Regions from separate parts of the Homo sapiens genome. Here regions 1, 2, 3, 5 and 6 are each linked to region 4. Evidence: promoter capture Hi-C in 16 types of primary human blood cells and fetal thymus (Javierre and others, 2016). All regions are on one chromosome and are shown on one strand. The core of a region is centred on a gene start or on the middle of the fragment in contact, and the rest is flanking DNA. Distances in the headings are between cores, read along the strand shown.

Evidence for each region. The method cuts DNA at HindIII sites, captures the fragments that hold promoters and counts their contacts. A CHiCAGO score of 5 or more calls a contact.
Region 1: a contact is called between a fragment that was not itself captured here and the fragment with the promoter of MAP2K4 in region 4, in 7 of 17 cell types (total CD4 T cells, naive B cells, naive CD8 T cells and 4 more). The highest score is 9.9, in total CD4 T cells.
Region 2: a fragment that was not itself captured here is called in contact with the fragment with the promoter of MAP2K4 in region 4 in 1 of 17 cell types (total CD4 T cells); the score reaches 7.6 in total CD4 T cells.
Region 3: a contact is called between a fragment that was not itself captured here and the fragment with the promoter of MAP2K4 in region 4, in 1 of 17 cell types (total CD4 T cells). The highest score is 6.1, in total CD4 T cells.
Region 5: a fragment that was not itself captured here is called in contact with the fragment with the promoter of MAP2K4 in region 4 in 6 of 17 cell types (activated CD4 T cells, M0 macrophages, total CD4 T cells and 3 more); the score reaches 9.0 in activated CD4 T cells.
Region 6: a contact is called between a fragment that was not itself captured here and the fragment with the promoter of MAP2K4 in region 4, in 1 of 17 cell types (endothelial precursors). The highest score is 6.5, in endothelial precursors.

Annotation. Positions count from the first base shown.
Region 1 is chr17:13,028,517-13,032,931 of GRCh38, forward strand. No RefSeq gene overlaps it. Among named protein-coding and RNA genes, the nearest start is that of ELAC2, 13 kb to the left of the region's middle. The HindIII fragment of the contact is 1,162 bases long and covers 2,236-3,397 here.
Region 2 is chr17:10,737,951-10,741,915 of GRCh38, forward strand. The region is part of intron 1 of TMEM220-AS1 (TMEM220 antisense RNA 1); the gene reads left to right. Among named protein-coding and RNA genes, the nearest start is that of TMEM220, 9.9 kb to the left of the region's middle. The HindIII fragment of the contact is 2,083 bases long and covers 1,453-3,535 here.
Region 3 is chr17:10,719,977-10,724,412 of GRCh38, forward strand. TMEM220 (transmembrane protein 220) reads right to left here. Exons shown (of 6, transcript NM_001004313.3): 5 at 3,294-3,353. Among named protein-coding and RNA genes, the nearest start is that of TMEM220-AS1, 7.6 kb to the right of the region's middle. The HindIII fragment of the contact is 9,230 bases long and covers 1-4,436 here.
Region 4 is chr17:12,018,493-12,022,623 of GRCh38, forward strand. It overlaps MAP2K4 (mitogen-activated protein kinase kinase 4), which reads left to right and starts at 2,385. Exons shown (of 11, transcript NM_003010.4): 1 at 2,385-2,509. The coding sequence starts at 2,395. It also overlaps a transcript of ZNF18 not described here. RefSeq lists an enhancer at 2,185-2,685 and a silencer at 2,222-3,101. The HindIII fragment of the contact is 6,257 bases long and covers 1-4,040 here.
Region 5 is chr17:10,683,300-10,687,518 of GRCh38, forward strand. SCO1 (synthesis of cytochrome C oxidase 1) reads right to left here. Exons shown (of 6, transcript NM_004589.4): 5 at 3,428-3,543. Among named protein-coding and RNA genes, the nearest start is that of SCO1, 12 kb to the right of the region's middle. The HindIII fragment of the contact is 3,317 bases long and covers 542-3,858 here.
Region 6 is chr17:10,872,576-10,876,474 of GRCh38, forward strand. It overlaps LOC124903926 (a long non-coding RNA gene), which reads left to right and starts at 2,613. Exons shown (of 2, transcript XR_007065619.1): 1 at 2,613-3,899. The HindIII fragment of the contact is 1,434 bases long and covers 783-2,216 here.

The sequences.
Region 1 (4,415 bases), core at 1,567-4,066, 1.0 Mb after region 4:
TCTCAGCTCACTGCAACCTCCGCCTCCTGGGTTCTGGCTATTCTCCTGCCTCAGCCTCCTGAGTAGCTAGGACTACAGACACATGCCACCACACCCGGCTAATTTTTGTATTTTTAGTAGAGATGCGGTTTCACCGTGTTGGCCAGGCTGGTCTTGAACTCCTGATCTCAGGTGATCCACCTGCTTCAGCCTCTCAAAGTGCTGGGATTACAGGCATGAGCCACTGTGCCCGGCCAGATAGATATAAATCTTTTAATAATTATTTTAAGGAATTGGCTACAGTGATTGTAGAGACAGACAAGTTCAAAATCTGCAGGGTAGGCTGGCAGGCTGGAGACTCGGTGAAGAGTTGCTATTCAAGGCTGAGGACAGCCTGCCGTCAGCATTCCTTTTTTCTTTGGGAAAGTCAGTCTTTTCTTGAAGGCCTTCAGCTGATTGGATGGGGCCCATCCACACTACAGTGAGTCCTCTGCTTTACCCAAAGTCCACTGATTTAAATGTTAATGTCACCTAACAGATCTCTCACAGAAACATCTAGAGTAATGTTTGACCAAATACCTGGCTACCATGAGCTAGCCAAGTTGACACACAAAATGAACCATAACACATTGGTTGACCTTAGTTACTTCTAAGAAACTGAGTTAAAAGTGGTCTCGTCTGATGTCGGAAGGAGGGGTAGGGGTGGAAAGAACAAGAGTGGTGGATGCTGGCTGTCCGTTGCTGAGGAAGCGTACCTCCGCCTGCCATGGTGAACTTGGCTTTGGTGATTTTTAAGGCACTGGAAAACTGAGTACCCTCATAAAAGCAGTAACAGCTGCAATTTACTGAGCACTTACTGTGTGCCAGGCATCCTGCTAGGTGCTTTTCATGGTTTATCTTGTTTGGAATTACTCTGGCTCCATCTGGCAGACACCATGCACAGCTTTCCCTGCCTGGGGTCAGCTACCTCCTCAGGCCTCTAACTCAGGAAGTTGGCTGGACACAAGGCCCATGTCTCTGGGACCCACCAATCTTTCCGATCCCTGCTCCACAGATTGGGAAATGTTTTTCAAGAGAGATAACGAGCAGGAGTTTCTCTTCTCCTTCCTTAGCTTGAAGCTTTTGTCCTCTCCATGTCCCCAGGGGCTTAGGCTTTTGAAACCAAATCCTGGAAGACTTCTTTGTTCTCAGCTCTCTCTTCTGCCTAATTCCTCCAGAGAGTGGGCCTAGCTCTTTGGTGAGGGAAGGGCACAGGGGGACTTTTCCTGGAAGAAAAAGTTGGTTAATATTTTTAAAGACATTACCCCACCTCATTGGTGACAATCGATCATGTCAGCGCATCTCCTTTTCCTGGCCATGTATTTTACTTTTCTTTTCCCTTCCGTCACTGCTTCCCTGCGCCTCTATAATGTCATAAAGGAAGGGAGACGAGCTCAAAGCTTTGAATATACCTGACCATTACTGACTCAAGACAATGCTACAGGCTCCTGTTTTATAAGAGAAAAAGAATTCATGGAAGCTTTTCTGGAATACGGCTTTATGTTCATATTCTACCCACTCCTCTCTCTCTCTCCTCATAACTAAAGGGAGCTGGTAGCAACCACCCTGCTTTGCAGCTCAGCTGGTAGAATGCCTGGAGAGCAGCCAGTGGCCTGGGTTCAATCTCCTGATAAGTCATCAATTTCTTTCTCACCCAAAACATCTGGTTTGGGATCCTGAGTTATGAGCTAATATTAAATATAAAAGTTTATAGCATCACATATATAATGCTGTTGATTAGAAACATCAAGAAAAGTAATTGACTGGAAGGGACTTGGTGTGACCAGCTGCTTGAACATCTGGATGGTATCCAAGGGGCCTGAATTGAATTCCCAATTCATCCATTCGTTCTTGGCCAGCAGTATCTGGTTTGGGATCTTTAAAGATTTGACTCTCCTCCTTGGCTATGGCTTTTTCTCAATGTTTTATACATAAGCGTGTGAGTGTGTGTTTCAGTTAACTGAAAAAAGCTAAAATAAAATCAATGTAGTTTTTATCTTCTCTTGCATCTGTTCATTAGACATTTATGGTTTTTATGATTTCCCGAGCCTCATCGTGTTACCAACAATGAACACTAGGGGGCAGTGTACACTCATGTTTTTCCTCCATGGGCTAAGATGTGTGAAGAGTGCCCCAATCCACCTCTCCATCTGGTTTGCAGTTGAGATGCCCAAGAGCGGGAAGGGTTCCTACCAGCATGGGGCTTTGTTCTCAGAAAGCTTCTCTAAGATACGTTACTTAGATACATCCGTAAAATCCCTCAGTCAACTGCACCCCTGTGGCCTATAGCCTGAAGTTAACCAAGTCTTTTCGTGACAGCCTATGTTCTGTTTGCTGAATAGCTGCCTCTCCTTCCTTTCTCTTTTCTGTTGGGTTTGGTTCCTGCCAGAACAACACGGATTTGCCCATCTCCCCTGACACACTCCGGTCCAAGGTTTAAGCAGGGCAGTCATTTCCTTACTGGAATCCCTTCCCAAACAGCTTCTTCCCAGGCTATCAGGCAGAAAGTATTTTGCATCTCCTGTGCCAACTCAGACTGAGGTAGCTGCTTGGAGTATTGTTTTGAGAAGGCCTCAGGGTCCAGGCTCAAGAGCAAGAATGCTATGCTCGATTGGCAATGTCTTCCTCCCTTCCCTTCCCTCCTTCCTTCCTTCTGTTCCTACCCCACTCCTTCCCTCCCTTCTCCCCTCCACTCCTTCCTCCTTCCTTTCTTTTTTCCTTTTTTCTTTTCTTTCTTATTGAATTCCGTTGAAGAGCCAGGTACTGGGCTAAACATTTCAATAGTGGACAAGATCATCTTGGTTTCTGCCCTCACAGAATTTACAAACCAATGGGAGAGACAGTAAAAAAACTGGGCACGTGGTAAGCCCTATGCTAGGGAAGCAATCGCGTGGTGTGGGGCACGCAGAAGAGGTACCTCACCCAGGCTTGGGGGTGAGTGATGAAACAAGGATGCATACCATAAAACCAAGGAGGGAAGGGGCAAAGAGTCAAGAGTCAAGGGGGAAATGTTAGAGCAGAAAAATACATGCAGGCAGCTCTTGCTTTTCACTTTGCTGCTCTGAGTCAATCTTTGTCTAGAAACCACCCATATCCCTCACCTGCAGATGTCTTAAGTGGCTCTGGGCTATTGGAGTGGCAAAGTCTACGGCCTGCAGTGGCCAGGAAGGTAAGATGGGTGATCCAGAGGATCAGAGCAAGCTAAGTCTCTGTGCTCCATCTGAGGGGGTGGTGCTCCGTCTTGAGCCAGGCAACAGTGGCTCTGTAAAACGCAGGCTCAGACAGTGTCAGATCTCGGGACTGTTTTGCAATGGAGGCTGAGAACTAGATTTTATGTGAAATTTCCTGAAAATATTTACTAACACTTTATGGGCCAAAAAGCTTAGGCATGAAGGCAAATTTAGGCCCTTGGGGATCTCTGGCCTAATGGCGCCTTTGCGTCCATGTCCGCCACCTAGTGGTGGATGTGGGTTCCTTCACTCTGTTTTTCTGTAACAGCAGCCGGAACCAACTTCCTTCCTTGCTCCCTTCTTAAATTTGGCTTTTGATTTCCAAAAAAAAAAAAAAAAAAAAAAAAAAAAAAAAATTGTTATGAAACGTTTAGGGTGCCACCCTGATGGCGGTTTTCGCCTTTCTTTTCCGGAAATCAGTGAAATCGAAGTTGGGGCGGATGGGGATGATGTTGAGAAGGCTGTTTGGGACGTGGGGGGTGATGACAGTGACGGGCTTGAGCACCTGCTTTGCTGGTGTGAACTTGCAGGCTGATTCCAACCGATTGAATGAAATATGATTACCAGCTTGACCTGTCTGGAGTCCAGATCCGGAGACTCTGAGTGCTCCTTGCAACATTAAGGATATATGATTCCATCGTGAGAGTGGGCCTTCTCAGCCAGGGTCTCCAGAGCCTTAGGGCTTTTTTCTGAATGGGCTGAATTCATGGTGGTCTTTGAGCCCCCTAGAAATTGTGTGCAAAAGTGTTTGCTTGTGCATTTTTCTTGGAGAGAGCTGCTAGCCTGAGTCAGATTCTCAAAGGGCCTATAACTCAGGAAGGGGAAAGGCAAGGCTGAAAAATGGGTTTCTCAAACTGAATGAGTACCCCAATGCTTGTTAAAATGCAGATTGTGGCTGGGCTCGGTGGCTCATGCCTGTAATCCCAGCACTTTGGGAGGTCAAGGTGGGTGGATCATGACATCAGGAGTTCCAGACCAGCCTGGCCAACATGGTGAAACTTTGTCTCTACTAAAAATACAAAAATTAGCTGGGCATGGTAGCGGGTACCTGTAATCCCAGCTACTCGGGAGGCTGAGACAGGAGAATCACTTGAACCCAGGAGGCAGAGGTTGCAGTGAGCTGAGATCATGCCACTGCACTCCAGTCTGGGCGACAGAGTCCATCTA
Region 2 (3,965 bases), core at 1,244-3,743, 1.3 Mb before region 4:
CAGCAGGACTGCACTCCCTCTGAGGGCTCTGGGGTAAAGTCCTTTCTTGCTTTGACAGCTTCCAGTGGCTCCTTGTGGCCACATGACTCCAATCTCTTCACGTTACCTTCTCTGTGTCTGTCCTTCTGCTCTTCTTTTATAAGGCAATGTATCATCAGATTCAGGACCCACTTGGACAATGCAGGATGTCTCATCTTGAGATCCTCAATGTAATGTTTGCAAAGACCCTTTTGCCAAATAAGGTCCCATTCACAGGTCCCAGGGGTTAGGATGTAGACATCTCTTTATGGGAGCCACCATGATCATTGTAGAAACCTGGAAGTTATTCCTGACACCTCATCTTTCCTCCTCTCTCAGTCCACCACTGATTCTGGTGAACTTTTCTGCTCAGTAGTCCCCCATTTTTATTGCTGACACCTGGTCCCAGCGATCAGCATTTCCCCTCTTTGAACACATTAACCTCCTAACTGGCTTCCCACCCTGTTATGGACTGACTTGTGCTCCCCCTGCACTCCCTAGTTCATAAGTTGAGTATTTGGAGATAGGGCCTTTAAGGAGATAATGAAGGCCAATGAGGGAGTAAGGGTCGGGCCCTAATCCCACAGGGCTGGTATCCTTACAGGAAGAGGAAGAGGCTCCAGAGCTGGCTCTCTCCTGGCCCACACAGAGGAAAGGCCATGTGAGGACACAGGGAGAAGAGGGCATTTATAAGCCGGGAAGAGAGGCCTCACCGGCCACCAACCCTGATGGAACCTTGATCTTGGACTTACAGCCAGCAGAGCTATGAGGAAATCAATGTTTAAGCATCATCCTAGTCTGTAGTGCTCTGGCAGCCTGAGCAGAAGAATACTTACTCTGTGCTCCGTCCCACCCAGTCTCCACACTGCAGCCAGTGACTGTATGAGACACAAATCTCCAATTTCTGCTTAAGACCCTCCCTCCCTCCCTCCCTCTCCTCCCTCCCTCCCTTCCTCCCTTCCTCTCCTCCCTCCCTCCCTTCCTCTCCTCCCTCCCTTCCTCTCCTCCCTCCCTCCTTCCCTCCTTCCCTCCCTTCCTCTTCTCTCTTCCACTCTCCTTCCCTTCCTCTCCTCCTTCCCTTCCTCTCCTCCTTCCCTTCCTCTCCTCCTTCCCTCCCTTCCTCTCTCCGTTCCTCTGTCCCTCCCTTTTTCTCCTCCTTCCCTCCCTTCCTTTCCTCCCTCCCTCCCTTCCTCTCCTCTCCTCTCTTCCTCCCCACTCCCTTCCTCCCTTCCTCTCTCCTCCCCTCACCTCCCTTCCCTTCCCTTCCCCTTCCTTCCTTCCTTCCTTCCTTCCTTCCTTCCTTCCTTCCTCCCTCCCTTCCTTCCTCCCTCCCTCCCTCGCTTCCTCCCACAGATGGATCCAAGGCACTCATCTAAGCACTAAGGATATAGCAGTGAACGAAACAGACAACTCCCACCTGATGTTCTTGTGTGAAGCTTACCTTCCAGCACCCCTCACTGCCTATGGCTCTGGGGTTAAAAACCAACATTTGAACCTGGTCTGCAAAGCCCTGCGTACTCAGAGCACTGCCCAGCCTGGTCAGCCTCCACTTGTTCCAGCTCACCTTCCTTCTTCACCACTTCACGTGCACACACACACACACACACACACACCCCTGGCCCTGTGGTTACACAGCCTCTTCAGTCCTTCCAAAGGGCAGTGCTTCTGCCCTCCAGAGAGCTTTCAGACACTGCATTTCCTTCTGTCGGGAAGGGTCCCGCTTTGCCTACTTTGTCCTCTTTCCACTCTTAGCCTCCTTACGTAAGCCTGTCACAGGCTCTTAGCAGCTGTCACATCTCCCTTGCAGCACTGACCACAATGGCCATTAAATAATTAACTGTACAATTAGTTGTTTAGTGTCTGTGTAGCCCACAGAACAACAGGCCCATGAGAACAATCTCTCTCTCTGCTTTTGGTTCCTGCTACCTTCCCAGGCTTAGCGGGTTGAACTCGGTGGGTTCTTATTAACTATTGCTACAGGAAAGAGCCAAGGAATAAATGAATTATTTAAATCCTAATAAGCCCCTCCTATCCTTTAGATATTTTTGTTCCCAGTTTATAGATGTAAAAGTAAGGTGCAGGTGCAGGGTGGTTAGGTAACTGGCCCAAGGTCACCCACTTAGTAACAGTGGAGACTGAAGTAGAAATCCAGAGCTTTCTGATTTCAAAGATCAGGCTCTAAACAGCCACGACTCAAGCCCAGTTTGCTTTAAATGATGATGAGAGAATTCTTAACAGAAAGTCAGAAGCATCCTAACTAGAAATTCATGAAAGAATAATTTTATTTTATTAAAAGAATTATTGCAATCAACAAGAGAATGGATAAACAAACTGTGATATAATTACATAATGGAATACCACTAGCAAAAAAGAGAAACAGACTACTAACATGCTGTCGCATCCATGAATTGCAAAAACATGCTGAACCAAAGAAGCCAGACACAGAAGACTACATGCTGTGTGACTCTATGTGAAATTCCAGAAGAGGCAAAAACCATGGATGTGAGAGCCATTAGGTCAGTAGTTGCCTTTGGGGTGAGACAAGGAGTGTCTGGGAAAGAGAATAAGGGAATTTTCTGGGGTGATGATAATGTTCTGTATCTTGATGGAGATTTCAGTAACCTATTTGTGTATGTATTTGTCCAAAGTCAGCATCCATACTCATGAGATATGTTAATTTCTCTCTTTGCAAATTATATCTGGAAAACCAAACAAACTCTTAAACCAATATTGAACTGTAGTTTGTGACATGCATGCTGAAGTGTTTGGGGTGACGCGTACTGACGTCTGTAGCTTGCTTAGAAAATAAGATGGATGCTGGTGGACAGAGGGAGGAATGCATGGACAGACGCGGGGTAAAGCGAGGAGAGTAAAATGGTACATGTAGAGTCTAGTGGGGGGGGGGTGTGGGTGTTCACTGCTCAAAACTTTCCAACTTTACTGTATGTTTGAAAATTTTCATTATAAAATGTCAAAAAAAAGTTCATGACCAGCCTGGCCAACGTGGTGAAATCCCGTCTCTACTAAACATACAAAAATTAGTTGGGCGTGGTGGCAGGTGCCTGTAATCCCAGCTACTTGGGAGGCTGAAGCAGGAGAATCGCTTGAATCTGGCGGGCAGAGGTTGCAGTGAGCCGACATGAAGCCACTGTACTCCAGCCTGGGTGACAGAGTGAGACTTCATCTCAAAAAAAAAAAAAATCAGTCAAAAAAAAATACAGTAAGCTGAAAAAATGCATTTCAAAAGCAGCTAATGTTTATGGTAATCAGTAAACAATCCAAAGATGCATGCTAGAAAATTATTCACCGTTTTTTATTAAAGGGGATGATTGGCAGGGAGAATGTGGAGAAGAGGCCCAGGAGTGGGGTTGGGAGATGCCTAATTCTTGGCAGGATCTGGAAGAAGAGGCAGCTGGTGGGATCTTCTTCAGGGTAGAGAGGTTACAGAATACGAGACTGAGCCTTTGAGGGCAGCCACCTCCTCCCTGAGGCCTCTGGGGTGGCAGTTAGTTCTCAAAGCTTGTTTCATTTATGGTCCAGCACCATAAGTGCTGTTGCTGACATTATTGGCTTGGCAGTGAAATCAAGCCTGCGCCCTTGGGGGCGGTGCGGGGGTCTTGCCCGGATGGTCGATGTGATGGTGTCAATGGCAGAAGGAGGCTGGAGACGTGGGCACTCTAATCTGATCCCCAACATTCACTGGTTATGTGGCCCTGGGTGCATCACTGAACCTCCTCTGGCCTCTGTTGCCTTATCTGTAAAATGAAGACAATAATATTTAGCTTGCAGGGCTGGTATCAGAATTACATATTCTGACATTATCAAGGTCAGCTGTGTGTTGCCAAGTCTGAGGTCAAGCCTCAGTCCCCTGTTGCTCCCTTTATCAGTGGCTTGTGACACAGTTGATCAGGCCCTCTGCCTTGAAACACTTGGTGCTCTCTGCCAGG
Region 3 (4,436 bases), core at 1,937-4,436, 1.3 Mb before region 4:
TTTGCTCTTAATAAGAGAAATGCAAGCTAAAACTACCCCTTTCTCAACGATCCGATTAGTAAAAATTCAAGATTTTGATAACATACTCTGCTGGCAAGGCTATGGGGAAACAGACACTGTTAGCCATGGCTGGTTGGGATGCAAAATGGAAGAGCCATCTGGAGGGGAATTCGGGAGTATATAGAAATATGAACTATGCAATTACACTTTGACCCAGTAGTCTCACTTCCAGGAATTTATCTCAAAGACACACTGGTAAAAATATGTTAGATATATGCATATGGCTATTAACTGCAGCACTATTTTTAATAGCAAAAGCCTGGATACTATCTAAATAGTAGAGAACTGGTTGATTAAGCTATGGAGCCATCAGCAGAGTAAGAAAAGTTTTTCTATACTATAGAATGATCTCCAGGATGTAGTAACTGGAAAAGCAAGTGGAATACAACTGTGTACAATACACTGCCAGTTACCTTAGATAAGCAGGAATACAACTAAGTCACACATTTGCTCCACTGAAAAATCATGGAAGGATAAACTATAAAACTGAAAAAATTTTCCCCCATAGGGAAAGGGAAGCTATAGGGTCAGGGGGCTGGAGAAGCCGAATTTCTTTTAATATATCTTATTTTATAGATTTGACTTTTGAGCCATGTAGATATTTTACATAATTATAAAATAATATCAATATATTTTCAATACAATTAGCCCTAGAAATAAATGAATCTAACTGTGTATTTACTTGGTGGGATTAGCATACAGAACACTATGCCCAGTAATTTGAGTGTACATCCCTTAGTAGGTTATATCCTAATAACAAAAACAAACAAGAGAACCTGTTTTCAGTAGTCATATTATCATTTGGAGATTGCATTTGTATTGTAGAATAAATCAAATGGGTGATTATGTTGAGGTCACTGAGACTAGAAATTTTGCCATGATTAAAAGGAGATCCAGATATAAAATGTTCAATAAGGTTAATAAGAACTGGTACCTCTGAATTTGAGTAGTTAGTATAAACTCATAAGACATCTTAACTTTAAATGTATATGTGTACGTGTATATATTTATGTATGCATATACATTTATGACATATATATGAATTCACGAACATTGCAAACACTGTTGATTCCAGGTCTGTGGCCTAAAACATGATCCTGGGTATAACATGCGCCTGGAACATCTTGTCATACCAGAAAGCAAGGAAGCTATCAAAGGTTTACTAGGGTCATGTCAGAAAGAATTCAGGAGCAGACCTGAATAAGTGCCACTGGACAAAAATGGGACAGTCTGAGCATCAATAAAGACAATAACTGTCACGGACTGAAACACATTAAATATGTTTAAACTGGCCGGGTGCAGTGGCTCACGCCTGTAATCCCAGCACTTTGGGAGGCTGAGGCAGGCAGATCACTTGAGGTCAGGAGTTTGAGACCATCCTGGCCAACATGGTGAAACCCCGTCTCTACTAAAAACACAAAAATTGGATGTGGTGGCACCTGCCTGTAATCCCAACTACTTGGGAGGCTGACGCAGGAGAATTGCTTGAACCCGGGAGGCAGAGGTTGTAGTAAGCCAAGATCGCGCCACTGCACACCAGCCTGAGCAACAGAGCAAGACTCTGTCTCAAAAAAAAAAAAAAAGAAAAAAAGAAAAAAAAGAAAAAAAAAATAGTTTGGCAGTGTGGCGTGGATAAGGTTCAGATAAAACAAGATTGGACATACCAATAATTGTTGAAACTGGGTGATGAGTATATCTGATTCAAGATATTAGTCTCTCTGCTTTTATATATGTTTGAAAATTCAAAATAAAAAGTTAAAACAAAAAATTAAAAATATTCACAAAAAGTTGTTTTTCTCCAATAATTGTCTTACATTCTACTTTGTTGTTAAAATTGCAATATTGTATTTCATTTGGCTGGTGTTTGTAGTTTTTTTTCATCTTTTGACTTTAAATCTTTCTATATCAGTACAGTTAAGGGTTGTCTTTTTAAGCAGTGTAGAGCTGGGTTTTTCTTTCTTTTTTTTTTTTTTTGAGATGCAGTCCTGCTCTATCGCGCAGGCTGGAGTGCAACAGCACTACCTCAGCTCACTGCAACCTCCGACTCCCGGGTTCAAGCGATTCTCTTGCCTCAGCCTCCCAAGTAGCTGGGATTACAGGTGACCAACACCACGCCTGGCTAATTTTTTTGTATTTTTAGTAGAGACGGGGTTTCGCCATGTTGGCCAGGCTGGTCTCGAACTCCTGACCTCAGTTGATCCGCCTGCCTCGGCCTCCCAAAGTGCTGAGATTACAGGTGTGAGCCACCTCGCCTGGCCTAGAGTTGGGTTTTTAATCTTTTTACATACTTTGAGATTCTTTGACTCTTAACTGAAATCTTTACCTTTACATTTAATGTAATTTCTGATATATTTGGGTTTAAATCTATATCTTAACACATGCTTCCTATTTGTCCTATTGTTTCTGTTTCCCCTTCCCCTTCTCCTGCCTTCTGTACTCATTTTAATGCTACCAGTGGTTACCCTAATGATTACAACATTAATCCTTGACTTATCAAAGTTTAATATAAATGGATACTTTTATCTCTTCTCACACAATTAAAGGACCTTAGAATGCTTAAACTCCATTTACTCTTTTCCAGCTTTTATGCCACTGTTGTCATGTATTTCTATCCTGTATATGTTTAATTAGTTAACATTCATCGATATGTACACACGCACTTATATTGTCTTTGCTCTTCATTCTTTCGTGAATCTCTAAGTTTCCTCCTGAGATCATTTCCCTTCACCCTGAAGAACACCCTTTAGGCTGACAACTGCCCATGACTATACTGGGCCTTGTAGAAAACTACGGTTTTTGTGGACAAGAGTGACCAGGATACTTTAAATCAACTATTATTAACTTCCCTTAAGAAAAGGGAAGATTTCTTTCAAAAGATTCCTGTTTTTACTTGTATGGCAGTATTTTCACTTACTACCTGATTTTGTCAGCCTCGAAGATGTGATTTCTTTTTTTTTTTTTTTTGAGAGAGTGTTGCTCTGTCGCCCAGGCTGGAGTGCAGTGGCACAGTCTTGGCTCACTGCAACCTCTGTCTCCCGGGTTCAAGCGATTCCCCTGCCTCAGCCTCCCAAGTAGCTGGGACTACAGGCGCGTGCCACCACACAGGGCTAATTTTCTGTATTTTAGTAGAGACAGGGTTTGACCATATTGGCCAGGATGGTCTTGATCTCCTGACCTCGTGATCTGCCCGCCTCGGCCTCCCAAAGTGAAGATGTGATGAGTTGAATACTTACTTTGAGGAACTGTGGCACAGGATAATCCATGCTGTAATAATCACCAGACCAGACAGCTCCCTATAAAAGGGTGTACATTTCAGATTTTGGAAGTGGCTACAAGTGAGATGCATATCATCACATTCTCTCCATGACCACCTGATAGCGCATTCTGATTGAGTGACTGACTCTCCCTCAAGATCTATGGCATCGATGGAATATTTTCAAATCTGACCATGATTCATAAATTACTTTTTTCAGAGAATTTAAAGCCTCATATGAAAATACATTTCATCTTAAAAGGCAGGTATGAGATCCCTGACTATGCCCTGATTTATAAGTGGATCCCCCCAAAATGAAATGAATATTTTATAAAATCCACAGATACATCACTTTTTTCAGGTCGCTAGAAGAAACAGTGCAACTAAGAAAATCCCAGATTTGATCAGTCAATACTTTTACATTTTTAAAGAGGCTTCAGTGTGAGGCAGAATGAGCCCAAACCAATACATGATCTGTGTATATACTACAAGAGATTGGGTCACTTCCTAGGGGAGAGGAATGATTTGTAGTACAAATCAGACTAATAATTTGGGGGTGGGTATATGCTTCTATAAATATGTATTATATGCACATATCTTTTACATAGAATAAAAAACAATCACTTCAGCCATAATACCACTAGAAGCCCCAGGCTGAGTTCACTATAACCCATGGGCTTCATGCTGGAAGTGATTCAACCCATTTGGTCTACATTCTTATCTACAGACCCAACCTATAGTTTGGCTCTCCAGTGTTCTAAAGATTGGGGGTTATAACAAAGAAACACCTTTTCAGTGATGTTTAACTTACAGGTCTATGAATTTTGTTGTTGGCAGATGGCAGTAGGAGTAGAAAAGAAACAAAAGGACCTATTAATAAGTCCTCAGAGACAAGGGTGGGAGGAAGCAAAGGAAGAGGTGATAAAATAGGAGCAAGTGGTCATGACAAGGAAATGACACAAGACATACCAGGGCAAGTCTAACAGGTTGACTTAAAGTACTGATCTTTTGGCTGGGTGCGGTGGCTCATGCCTGTAATCCCAGCACTTTGAGAGGCCAAGGAAGGCGGATCACGAGGTCAGGAGTTCAAGACCAGGCTGACCAACGTGATAAAACTCTGTAT
Region 4 (4,131 bases), core at 1,135-3,634:
TGGATTAGGGCCCACTCGTATGACCTCATTTTACTTTAAAGACCCTATTTCCAAATATAGTCCCATTCTGAGATGCTGGGGGTTAGGACTCCAACATGTAAATTTGGTGAGGGAGCAGAATACAATTTAGTCCATAAGAAATCATAAAACACAAATATGTAAGAGAAATGTGAGCATAAGAAAAAGTTAAAAAGCTCATACATAGCTTCCTCAGTTGGAACAAATCAAAGTGCTTTCTTGTTTTTGCCATATGCACATCTAATTATTGGCTCTTACTAGTTTACAATACCAACAGCAATGCAAGTATATGTCAGTTTTATCACAAACTCAGAATTAGGTATTCTTAAAAATAAGATTAGTTATATTTTTATTGTATTTCTCTTTTAATTCAGTTTCCCAATTTCCCTTAATGAATTTGCTAGGTTGAAGGTTTTCCTATATATATATAAATATAACTATATATATACATATTTTTTTTAATAGATGGAGTCTTGCTCTGTCACCCAGGCTGGAGTGCAGTGGCACAATCTCGGCTCACTGCAACCTCTGCCTCCCAGGTTCAAGCGATTCTCCTGCCTCAGCCTCCCTAGTAGCTGGGATTATAGGTACCTGCCACCACACCGGCTAATTTTTGTTTTTTTCTGTATTTTTAGTAGAGACAGGGTTTCACCACGTTGGCCAGGCTGGTCACTAACTCCTGACCTCACGTAATCCACCCGCCTTGGCCTCCCAAAGTGCTGGGATTACAGGTGTGAGCCAACATCCCCAGCCTTCTTTAATATATGTTATTTATAATATTGGATGTGTGTGTGTGTGTGTGTGTGTGTGTGTGTGTGTGTGTGTGTTTAAATTAATTTTCTAGTAGTTGCCTAATCTGTAGTGCTGCTTCTAGGATTTCTATTAAAAGAATATATATTAAATTCTTATTAAAGGCCAGTTATGATGGCTCATAATTAAGATGCCCTAGGAGCAACAAGAGCTGGGTGGGCTACTGATTTCCAGATGGGAATCTGGCCATGTTTATAAGACCTGGACTTGAAGATATTGGGCAGCCAACGAGGCCCATGGAGGAGAATTCTGGCGGGCTCTCCACTGAAGTACACCTACCTGCTCTCACCTTCAATTTGCCTTTAATGCCTCTCCACTTGATGTTTACGGCTAGCCACTTTTAGGATCTGAGCCATCAAGATGATGGATGAAATTGGGTTTGGAACAAGAAGGCAGGGCTATTTTGACCCAGGACACATTTCCAACATGCTGTGAAGAACTCTCAGCATCAAATAACATCTGGGTGGAAGAAGTTTTGGGAAAGAAGTCTAGCTGTAGATCACACAATGCTTCTAAATGGGAGAAAATGTCCAGCTCCATGGCTTAGATTCTTTGGGAAGTAGGATAACTGGCTATTCCATTTTAGGCAAGGCTGCCTGGCCAGAAACCCATGTCTTACCATTTCGAGTACATTATGGTTGGCTTACAAATCGTAGCCTCATAGAGAACTTTTTCTTCTTTTAGCTACTGTCTTCCTAAAATAAAAGTCTCTGTGCAAAGCAATGGAAGAAACCTCATATTGTTTTTTGGGGTTGTCATTTTATGTAACTTACAATAATGACTACGGCTCGTCTTATACAAGATGTAAAGGATTTGGGAGAGGGAATCCAGTGTGCATTTAGGGGAAGATGGTGATGTAGATAGCATATTTCAGGAGGCTGGGAAGTGTCGAGTGCTTAAATATATGCTTCTCAAATTTAATGGGCATACAAATTACCTGGTGGTATTATTAAAATGTAACCTCTAATTCAGTAGTTTTGGGATGGGTCCATGGACAGCACTTTGGTTAGTTCCCCTTGGGACTCCCCTTTCCCCTCAGAGAAGTGTAGAGGGTTGGGGTATTGGGCTTAAGAGGAGTTCCAGACTGTAACCATAGCTCTAGGTAACTCCCTTCTGGAAGTGATGTGTTAGCGACTGGAGGAGAAAGGGATCCCTGGGATCCTTTTCAGCTTTACTATTCTGATTTGGGGTTCTGAGATTCCAACAAAGTGGACTTTTGGGAGTCACAGACCTCCATGGGAATGATGAAAGCTGCGTACCTTCTTTCCGCACAAATGCAGGCCCACCTTTAATTCTGCAAACCACTTTAGGCCCCGCGGGCCCGCAGCCCTGGTCCAAGACAGCTGTCTGCTTCACAGGTCGCGCACCCAGAGCCGGGCGGTTCTGCAGCTCAGCATCTGGCCCGGGCTGCGCGTCGGGCTCTGGCGGGGGCGTGTCAGGAGGCGTGTCCGGGGCGTGTCGGAGGCGGGGCCAAGGCGGGGGTAAGCCTCGCCCCTCGGCCGTGCGAGAGGCCGAGCTTGCTGCATTGCAGCCGCCGCGGCGCCGCTCGGCTCTTCACTCCCAACAATGGCGGCTCCGAGCCCGAGCGGCGGCGGCGGCTCCGGGGGCGGCAGCGGCAGCGGCACCCCCGGCCCCGTAGGGTCCCCGGCGCCAGGCCACCCGGCCGTCAGCAGCATGCAGGGTAAGGAACGCGGCCGCGCCGAGATCCCAGCCCCCTAGCGCGGCAACCCGCGTCGTCGCGGCCTGCCCCAGCGGACGCCCCCGGACCCGGCTGAGGAAGCCACGGCAGCCGCCGGCTTCTCCCTCTCTCCCTCCCCGGCTTCCCGCCCCGCTCCCGGCCGCCTCCGGCCCGGCTTGGATCCGGGCTCCGGCCCGCATAGGCCCCGGCCGCGGCCTCTGCCTGCGCTTGGCCCCTGGGCCCTACCGGGCTCTCAGCAGGCCCGCAGGGCCCACCTGGTCCGGGACCGCCCCCGCGGCCGTCCCCATCGCCCCCGCCGCTTACCTGGCGCCCGCCCGGCCCCCGTTTCCGGGAACGCGCCGGCTCGGGGCTGCGGCGGAGCGGGAGGGGCGTCGGGCCTGCCCCCTGGTCCCTGACGCCGCTCAGGTAGGCGGCGAAGACAGCGGCCCCGGCCGGCGCCCCTCGGCCCCGCCGCCGCAGTGGGCCCCGCTCAGGGCCATCTTGGCTGTCGCCGGGCACAGCTGGAGCCGGACCACCGAGCTGACCTCGGGCTACGGGGGCCTCTTGGAACCTGCGTTTTCAAACTTTTGCAGGGTTTCTGTGCGCTGGAAGGGATGGGGGTGGGGGGCGGGTTGCCCAGGCCTGTGCCACCTGTAAGGTAGGTAGGCTGCATTGGCCTGGGAGAGGCATTTTGTTCCAGGCCAGGGATTTCTGTGTTAGCATTGCGTGCAGGAAGAAAAAAAAAAAAAAAAAAAAAGAAGACTTAATTTGGTTTAAATGGAGAGATACAGGAAATAGACAGGGGTCAAAGTGATACTGTAGTGTCTGGACATTTGAGGCAGCTCTGCTAATTAATGACTTTCCCCACTGGGAATGCTTATTAGCTGTGTATGGCTTTTGACAGGGGGTGTTGTGAAAATACCAGGCCAGGCCCGAGCCTGTTAGGGACCATTTCCTTAAATTTACTGGGGAATTTTGAGTAGTAATGCTATTTTTAAAACAGGGAATCTCAGAACTCTCTTGACAACTTTAGCAAACTGCTTGTGTTGAATTATTAACAGAATAAGGGTTGGGGTACCCTTGGTAGTCAGTGTGACCATGGTTACTTTTTGATTCCATTCCTCTTAAAGGGCTTCTAGCATTTAGTTAGGTTCAACAGACATTTATTGAATAGTTCATGTTTATAGAGCATGCCATAATTCAGAAAGAAGAGACAGGATTTTATTTATCTTTACATCCCTGTCACCCTCCCCATGAAATAATTTTAATATACATAAAAACCAGTGATAGATATATAGACAGGATGATGTCAGAGCTTAGAGGACACTTTCTGTGCAGGCCCTCAGATAATTCATTCAAATTGAATTAGTTATTGGATGCCCACTGTGTTGCACAGCACATTATACTGATGAAGTATAAGATTGACTTCCTGACTGTACAGCTTTACAATTTAGGTGGTGGTGGTTGGGGCGAAATGAAATGGCAAAATGACAATTTAGGATTGTATTTCTTGTTCCAGATGGGTGACTTACAAAGCTTATAAAAACAAGGTGATTTGTTTGTTTGTTTTATTGGTGGGGAGGCTGACAGTTTGAAATAGCTGGATACAGTGTGTTTTTTTGGTT
Region 5 (4,219 bases), core at 950-3,449, 1.3 Mb before region 4:
TCTACGTTAGATTATACACAGTAGTTAAAAAATGGTTACTGGATTTTCAGTTTTTTCTCTTTAAAAACAATGCCATAGGGTATATTTATAGGATAAAGTCCAAAAAGTAGAATCTCTTGCATAAAAAGTATATAACTTTAAATGTGAGAAATACTGTTAAACTGCCCTCTGAAGAGGGTGTATGAGTTTAATTCCTATCAACAATGCATGAGTGTGCCTGCTGTTCCAAATTCACTCCTGCAGTTTATTTCCTGCTTTTCCAATTTCGACAATATATTTTCAGATTTTCTGACCACTGCTGAGCCAAGAGAAAAATGTTACCTCATTATACAATTCACATTTCTTTTATTATGAAACTGCACATTTAGGTTTGAAAGCTATTTGTATTCTTTTTTCAAAAGTATTTTCTAACTAATATCTATATAATAATATAGTATTATATATATATAATACAATAATGTGCAGATCCAGCTTTCTATGGAATTCCAAATATTTGGTATACCCAGTTCGATCACTCTGAAGAGTCCACTCAAAAGCCAGAAGCTTGCCTGTTGTTGCTGTCGTTTGGGATTAAGAAAACTTCATTCCATTACATCTCAACATTAACCTTAAAGGTACCCCCTTACTTCCTGCAGGTCCTTAAATGATAACAGAAGTTTCCCAAACCATCCTATGGATGAAAATCTGTGACCTCAAGGGACTGAAGTCATACTAATGAAAAACCTAAGAAGCTGAAGAATGTCTCCCCCTATTGGATGATTTAGCAAATGTACAGCATGAATTCCTCATCGAATCTCATCAAAAGTCAAATTCTTATGGCAGTAGGCCAGTATTTCTCAAAATGGGGCCAAAGATACATTCTACAAGGTCCAAGAAGTTTCCATAAGACTTACATATTTTTGTTTTCATTTGTAATTAAAAACATTAATATCCATATTCTGGATTATCTGTGTTGTGAGTATAAATTTCAGTGCCCAGGCTTGTGTTTGCTCCATGATCTCACTGGCACCTAGCTGCCCACTGCTGTTACAGGCAGACATGAATATGATACATTCTTGCCAAATCAACACTAACCAGGCAAGGCAGGCTACACGATTAAAGGTTTCAAAGTATTTTAAATAGAAAATGCAGAGGGGCAGTTGAGTAGAGTTGGGTATGTGATAGCAGTCTGACCAAAACCCCCTCCCTTCTTGCCCTGAGCAGCACTTTGGTTTCAGCAAAATCTCTTGTCAATGTAACTGAATGTTTTCAATTTAAGTTTTGCAGGCTGTTTGGGTTTATTTGTACAACTGCTTTCTGATTTGACTTTCTGACTCTGAGTTATGAGTTCTAAGCATCAAGACTATGGAGTGTTACCTAGTTTAGGACTGTATACATTTAAACAATTTAATATAACTCATTTAATGCTGGAAATCAGACTGATGAGCTCATCTATTCCTGCTGTCATCATCGGATAAACTCAAAACCAGTTAATACAACTCTCTATAAAGACAGAAGTCCGGAAAGTCCTTTTCCTATGGTTTCCTCTTTTGGCCACTGTGGCTCTCTGCTCTTCTCTCATTCTGCTAGAGAAGCAGCAAGAGGAAAACAGAGGAGGGTCCCTCTACTTTCCTTACAATTAAGGCTTAAAGAAAAGTGCTCATTTTTCTCATCTTTTACTCCAAGGAATCCAAGTTTCCCTAATTCTACGAGGCACCACATCTGGAAGACAGGATTACTGTGTAGGCTTAATTAAGGCAAACAGGCCAGAACCTTGCTTTTAATTCAGGCTGTAGGCTCCAGGGGCACACACGTTCCAGGTTCAAAGGGACAAAGAAATCATAGTTGGCTGTTGAGACAAAGCACTGCAGTGAGACATCCCATCCCCTCTGCATCTCAACTCTTGGGATGGGCCATGGGGAGCTGCTGGATCAGTGACTCAGGGTCTTGGCCATCTTTCTTTCTACAAAGACAGCTTCACAGCTAGAAAGGCTCTTAGGATTACTCTGCCCAAACAATATTATAGAAAAAACAGAGTATGACAACTAAGAAAAATACTGAAATAATGCTAAAATACAACGCCGACTCTTCATATGATAGGAGAAAAATGTCCAAATTGAGAGGAAAATTGGTGGATAGTGGTGGTGCTAATGCCTTTTGGTGCTTCACTGTGAAACCACTGACAAGAAAAGAAACACAGTAACTTGGGCATGACCTTAAGGCTTCTGGGGCAGTGCTGATGAATATGAAGATAGTTAATTTAAGAGCTACACAAGTACAACAGAATTTCTGTTCCTTATCATTAAAAAGCACATATTTAACGCCTAACTGTCCAAGGCATATAGTCAATGGGCAAATAAACCTTTCATCTTTTGCTTTTCAGAATTCTCATTCAACCTAAAAATGCAGTTCTCCATGGCCTAAAACTGGTTCTCCAGAAGAGCAATTTCTGATACCTCTACTGGGGACACAGTGAGAACCAACACAATCTTTTTAAAATAAGTGTTGTTCCAAATGATGGCTTCTCTTTATTTCCAACATGGCACCCAAGTATCTGGTTTTAAACTGCCCTAAAATCCTATATGCCACTATAAGAGAAAAACAGGCAATTGAATTATGAGAACAGTGAATATAAATCAAACAATCATCTTTTAAAAAACTGCTTCTGGCTGGGCGCAGTGGCTCAGGCCTGTAATCCCAGCACTTTGGGAGGCTGAGGTGGGCAGGGCAGACCACCTGAGGTCAGGAATTCGAGACCCCCTGGCCTCGCCTGGCCAACATGGCAAAACTCCTTCTCTACTAAAAATACAAAAACTAGCCAGGCGTGGGAGCACATGCCTGTAATCCCAGCTACGCGAGAGGCTGAGGGAGGAGAATTGCTTGAATCCGGGAGGCGGAGGTCGAAGTGAGCCAAGATCGCACCACTGCACTCCAGCCTGGCTGACGGAGTGAGACTCCGTCTCGAAAATAAATAAAAAGTAAAAAACATGCTTCTATTATCCTTTCAAATATTCAAAATTCCTAAGGAGGCTGGATGCGGTGGCTCACGTCTGTAATCCCAGTACTTTGGGAGGCTGAGGCGGGTAAGGTCAGGAGTTCGAGACCAGCCTGGCCAACGTGGTGAAACCCCGTCTCTACCAAAAAATATAAAAAAGTAGCCAGGTGTGGTGGCGCGCACCTGTAATCCCAGCTACTCGGGAGGCTGACATAGGAGAATTGCTTGAATCTGGGAGGCGGAGGTTGCAGTGAGCGAAGATTGTGCCACTGCACTCCAGCCTGGATGACAGAATGAGACTCCATCTCAAAAAAAAAAAAAAAAAAATTCCTAAGGACTTTGCAATAATCTTAGGTATTCTCTCTTCTCAGAAGCTAGTCAGTCATTGAAAGCCTTATGACTATTTGGGATCTGGGAGCTGGTCCATGGGTTAAAACTGGAACATTTACTCACTATGTAGTCTTCATCTTCGTCCTTGGGGCCAGGGCTGTAATACACTCTGTATGCTCTGGCCACTTGATCGACCTCTTCTCTCGTGCCAGTCAAGCCAACCAGTTTGGGAGAAAATTCTAAATAAAAAATGAGAGAGACAGTGAAAAATGAGAAGCCAGTAAAACAACCATCTCTACTTCAAAAAATGTATCAGTTGTAAAGCAGCTCTACTGCCACTTTCTTCCTGTGAGTCTCCAAACATTTCTTCACGATTCAAAGGAAAAGGAGAAGAAATTCACAAAGAACAAATGAAAATTCTCCTTTGTAATATATAAGTCAAATCTTTTTATGACTATCTAGTAAAGACCTGGAGGGAATATTTTCTAATCACTTGTATCACATTTTAAATTGATTTTTAAGGAGTAGTCACATGTAGTTCTCAGATATACTAAAGCTTAAAATTATTATCATAAATTAAATACTATAACTTTTCATGGCATCATATGGGGAAAAAAATTTGCTTCATAACTAAGTTCATATCAGGTCAAAATACCTGTGTCTTATTTTCCTGCAAATAATTTCAACACTGGTATCAAGTTCTACTCTTTACTTCTGATTTAAAAAAACTGGTTAATTAATACTAGTCATCCCCAAAACGCAATCTTAACAAAGTTCTGAAATAAGGGCAAATCATTCACAGCGTGTATCTGCTATTAAGTTTTTGGAATTCATGTAAGTGAACCGGTAGAGGTCACTTAAAACAACTGGATTCATCAAACTACTGAAATGACAGCCCAACATTTAACAGCAGTT
Region 6 (3,899 bases), core at 250-2,749, 1.1 Mb before region 4:
CTAAAGGAGTAGAAGGACGTTTCTGGGTGTGATGGATGAGTTCCTTATCTTGATTATGGAGACAGTTTTGTGCATGTATCAAATTGCATCCTTTAAGTACGTGCAGTTCTTTGTAAATCTATTATGTCTCAATAAAACTATTTAAACATTTTTACTGTTGGGCATATTCAGACAGGGTCTTTTTCTTTCTTTATTTTTATTTTTTATTTTACTTTAAGTTCCAGGACATATGTGCAGGACATGCAGGCTTGTTACATAGGTATACGTGTGCCACGGTGGTTTGCTGCCTCTATTGACCCATCCTCTACGTTCCCTCCCCTTGCCCCTCACCCCCCAACAGGCCCTGGTGTGTGTTGTTCCCCTCCCTGTGTCCATGTGTTCTCATTGTTCAACCCCCACTTATGAGTGAGAACATGTGGTGTTTGGTTTTCTGTTCCTGTGTTAGTTTGCTGAGAATGATGGCTTCCAGCCTCATCCATGTCCCTGCAAAGGACATGGTCTCATTCCTTTTTATGGCCGCATAGTATTCCATCGTGTATATGTCAGACAGGGTCTTTTTCTAGAAGGGCCATGGCTGGTTCTTTCCTGGACCACCCATCACAGGCTCCTTCCCCCACGCTCAGTGTAAGTGCAGCTTGCATCTTTGGCAGCCTCTGTATTCAGCTGTTGCCTATTACCTGTAGACTCTTTAGGAATGAGCCTGGCTGCCACCCAGGCTTCAGGGAGCCTCGATAGTTCTCCTTAAGTCCTGTCCTTTCTCTGACCTGAGGTGTTGGACCCGAAGCTTGCTCTCACACATGTGTGGAGAGCAACCCATATAAAACACCAATATCTCTCTTCAAAGATCTAATCCTTTGCATCTCTTTAACCTCCTGTGAGTCTCGGCTTTTTCCTCCATAGCCTGGAGACAGGTGCACATCTATTGAAAGCAGCAGTAGCTTTTGGCAATGCCCTTCGCCAAGCCTACACATGTGGTTCAGCATTACAGTGGGTGTCTACTTGGCACTCATTGTTTTTAGCTTTGGGGTCACAGCTGAAACTCTGAGATGACAAAAAGTCTCATTTTAATGACCTGTTTCACTTCCCTTTGGTTCACTGGGATACAAAGAGATGAATTTTTCCCAATATATTTTTAGAGGCATATTTATCATAAGAGCAGGCCAGCAGCCTCTCTGAGTGCTGAGGCCCTAATAGGGACTTGCAGTTATTGTATACCTACACCCCCACAAGGCCCCCAAAGATGCAGAGTGGACCTTTTGGTCCCTCTCCTCCCTTTGTCTAAGGACATCAGATAGTGATCATAAATATTCATCCCATCTATTTCCTGATGCTGGGAAGGGAAAATATTGCAAACACCACGAGCACTTGTTGAAGACACACATACGCCAGGCACTGTACCCAGAACTGACTCTACAGTGGTGATGGACAGGTCCTGCCCACGTGGATCCCCCAGTCTAGCAGACTGGACAACAGGATGGTGGCCTGGAGAAGAGGGTGAACATAAACTGGTGGACAAAGGGCCACATGGTTCGCCTCCAGAGATCTTCTTTAGAAAGGAGTCAAAGGGCTGGGCGCGGCGGCTCATGCCTGTAATCCCAGCACTTTGGGAGGCCGAGGTGGGTAGATCATGAGGTCAAGAGTTCGAGACCAGCCTGACCAACATGGTGAAACCCCGTCTCTGCTAAAAATACAAAAATTAGCCGGGTGTGGTGGTTCACACCTGTAATCTCAGGTATTCAGGAGACTGAGGCAGGAGAATCACTTGAACCTGGGAGGTTGCAGTGAGCTGAGATTGCGCCACTGCACTCCAGCCTGGGCAACAGAGTGAGACTCTGTCTCAAAAAAAAAAAAAAAAAAAAGAAAAGAAAAGAAAAGAAAAGAGTCAAGGGTGAGCAGTGCAAGGCTGAACAGCTTTCCATATTAGCCAAATACACCACCTCCGTCAGGATCCTCCCTCATAGAAGTCACCAGCACAGAAATGAGTCAGAACATTGTCACGTGAGCAATGGGAGCAGAATCTCCCCTCCTCGTGTCCTTGCTGCTGGGCCACAGGCCAGTGGTAGGCCTCTAAAGGGTTTAGAGTCACACAGGATGATGAAGGGGACAAATCAAGAAGAAAAGAAAAAAGGGAGCTTGCCAGGCACCTTCTTCTGCACCTCCAATTCCAAATGCACTCAGTGGATGCGTGGGAAGTGCTGAATCACATATGAAAGCAAAGCTTTAAACAGGATAGACCAAGCTTTAACAACAACAACACAAAAGCTTGAATGTCTACGAAGTTGGATCTGCATCTCATGGAGAGCCCAGGAGGTTTTTGCAGAGTACAGCTGGTAATAAAAATATGGAGGATCTAGGCCAGGTGCAGTGGCTCACGCCTGTAATCCCAGCACTTTGGGAAGCCAAGGCAGTCTGATTGCTTGAGCTCAGGAGTTAGAGACTAGACGGAGCAACATGGGGAAAACCTGTCTCTACAAAATACAAAAAATTTAGCAGGGCGTGGTGGTGAGCACCTGTAGACCCAGCTACTTGGGAGGCTACTTGCTTGAGGCCAAGAAGTTGAGGCTGCAGTGAGCCGTGATCGTGCCATGCATTTCAGCCTGGGTGACAGAAGACAGAAAAAGACCATGTCTTAAAAAAAAAAGAGGAAGATTTACCATGCCTCAGAGACTAAGTGCCTTACATTGTAATATAAAGTCTTTGAATCCTCACAATGACCCCAGGAGGTAGGTGCTGTTATTAACATCGTCCTTTCCTCCATGAGGCTAATAAGACACAGAGAGATTAAGTGTCTTGTCCAAGGTCATAGAGCTAGAACCTTGACTCCAGAAACAGCATCTGCAACCCCCAACCCCCCACCCTCGCGGCCTTTTGCCTATTCTGCAATCTCATGAAATTTCCTTTCCTTCTTTGAGGCCAGGAGCTCTCCAAGGTGCTGGAGAGAGGCCCAGAAGCAGCGTAGAGAGGCAGCCCCGCCAGACCCTGCAAGACCATAGTAAGGACCAGGATTTTATTTTGAGAATTAAGGGAAACCACAGGCGTCTAAATGAATCACTGCTGCTTCCGCGCTGTCATAGCCAGCACTCTGGCTGTGTCTCTATTTAGCACTTGAGAGCTGGCTGTTTACGTGCCTACTTCTCCTTCTGGACTGGAAATGTCTTAGAGCAGGGACTGCATCTTAGCCATTTTTATATCTTCTTCACGCTGTCCCAGTTACACAGCACAGTGCTGGCATATATTAAACATTTAGTACCTGTTTATTGAATGAAATTAAAGTAGAAATGGATTCTTAATTATCTTTGAAAAATCTCATTTTCCGGCAGCCCAATTAATTTCAAAGAGACTCAGGAATTTCTACAGTATCATGGCAATAACAATGGTAATGTTAATTCCGGTTACTAAGCTCTCAGTGTTACATGCTGGGATTTGGGCAAAACACTTTATATCACCCTTAGTATATTGAGAGAGAGGTACTCTAGGTCCTCCCAGTCACTGGTAGTCCTTTCCCAAGCAGAAGACTCACCTGGGCGAGCTTATAAATCCCAGAGGTTAAGGAGAATACGATTTCACAGGAGTGGCCACTAGGTGGTGGTGTGACACCATCATCACCTCGCCGTGGGCTAGTGGGCAACTTGGACCAATTGCGCGGGGCCGGTGGAGTGGCTGGGGGCCTCTTGGGAATCAAGATGGCCAAGATGGGGGTCTGTGCACCAAACTCTGTAGTTGAAGTTGAGGGCTTTCCAGTTTATGCTGCCCATGAGCAGATGAATGGAGAGGACTCTTACTAAGCCAGGGTGCATTTTCTTCTTGTTGAAATCTGAAAATTATTCACTTCATTTCAACTCAGTTGAACAAGACATTATTGAGTCTCAGCTCTCACTAACACCCCCTCTGTCTTCACA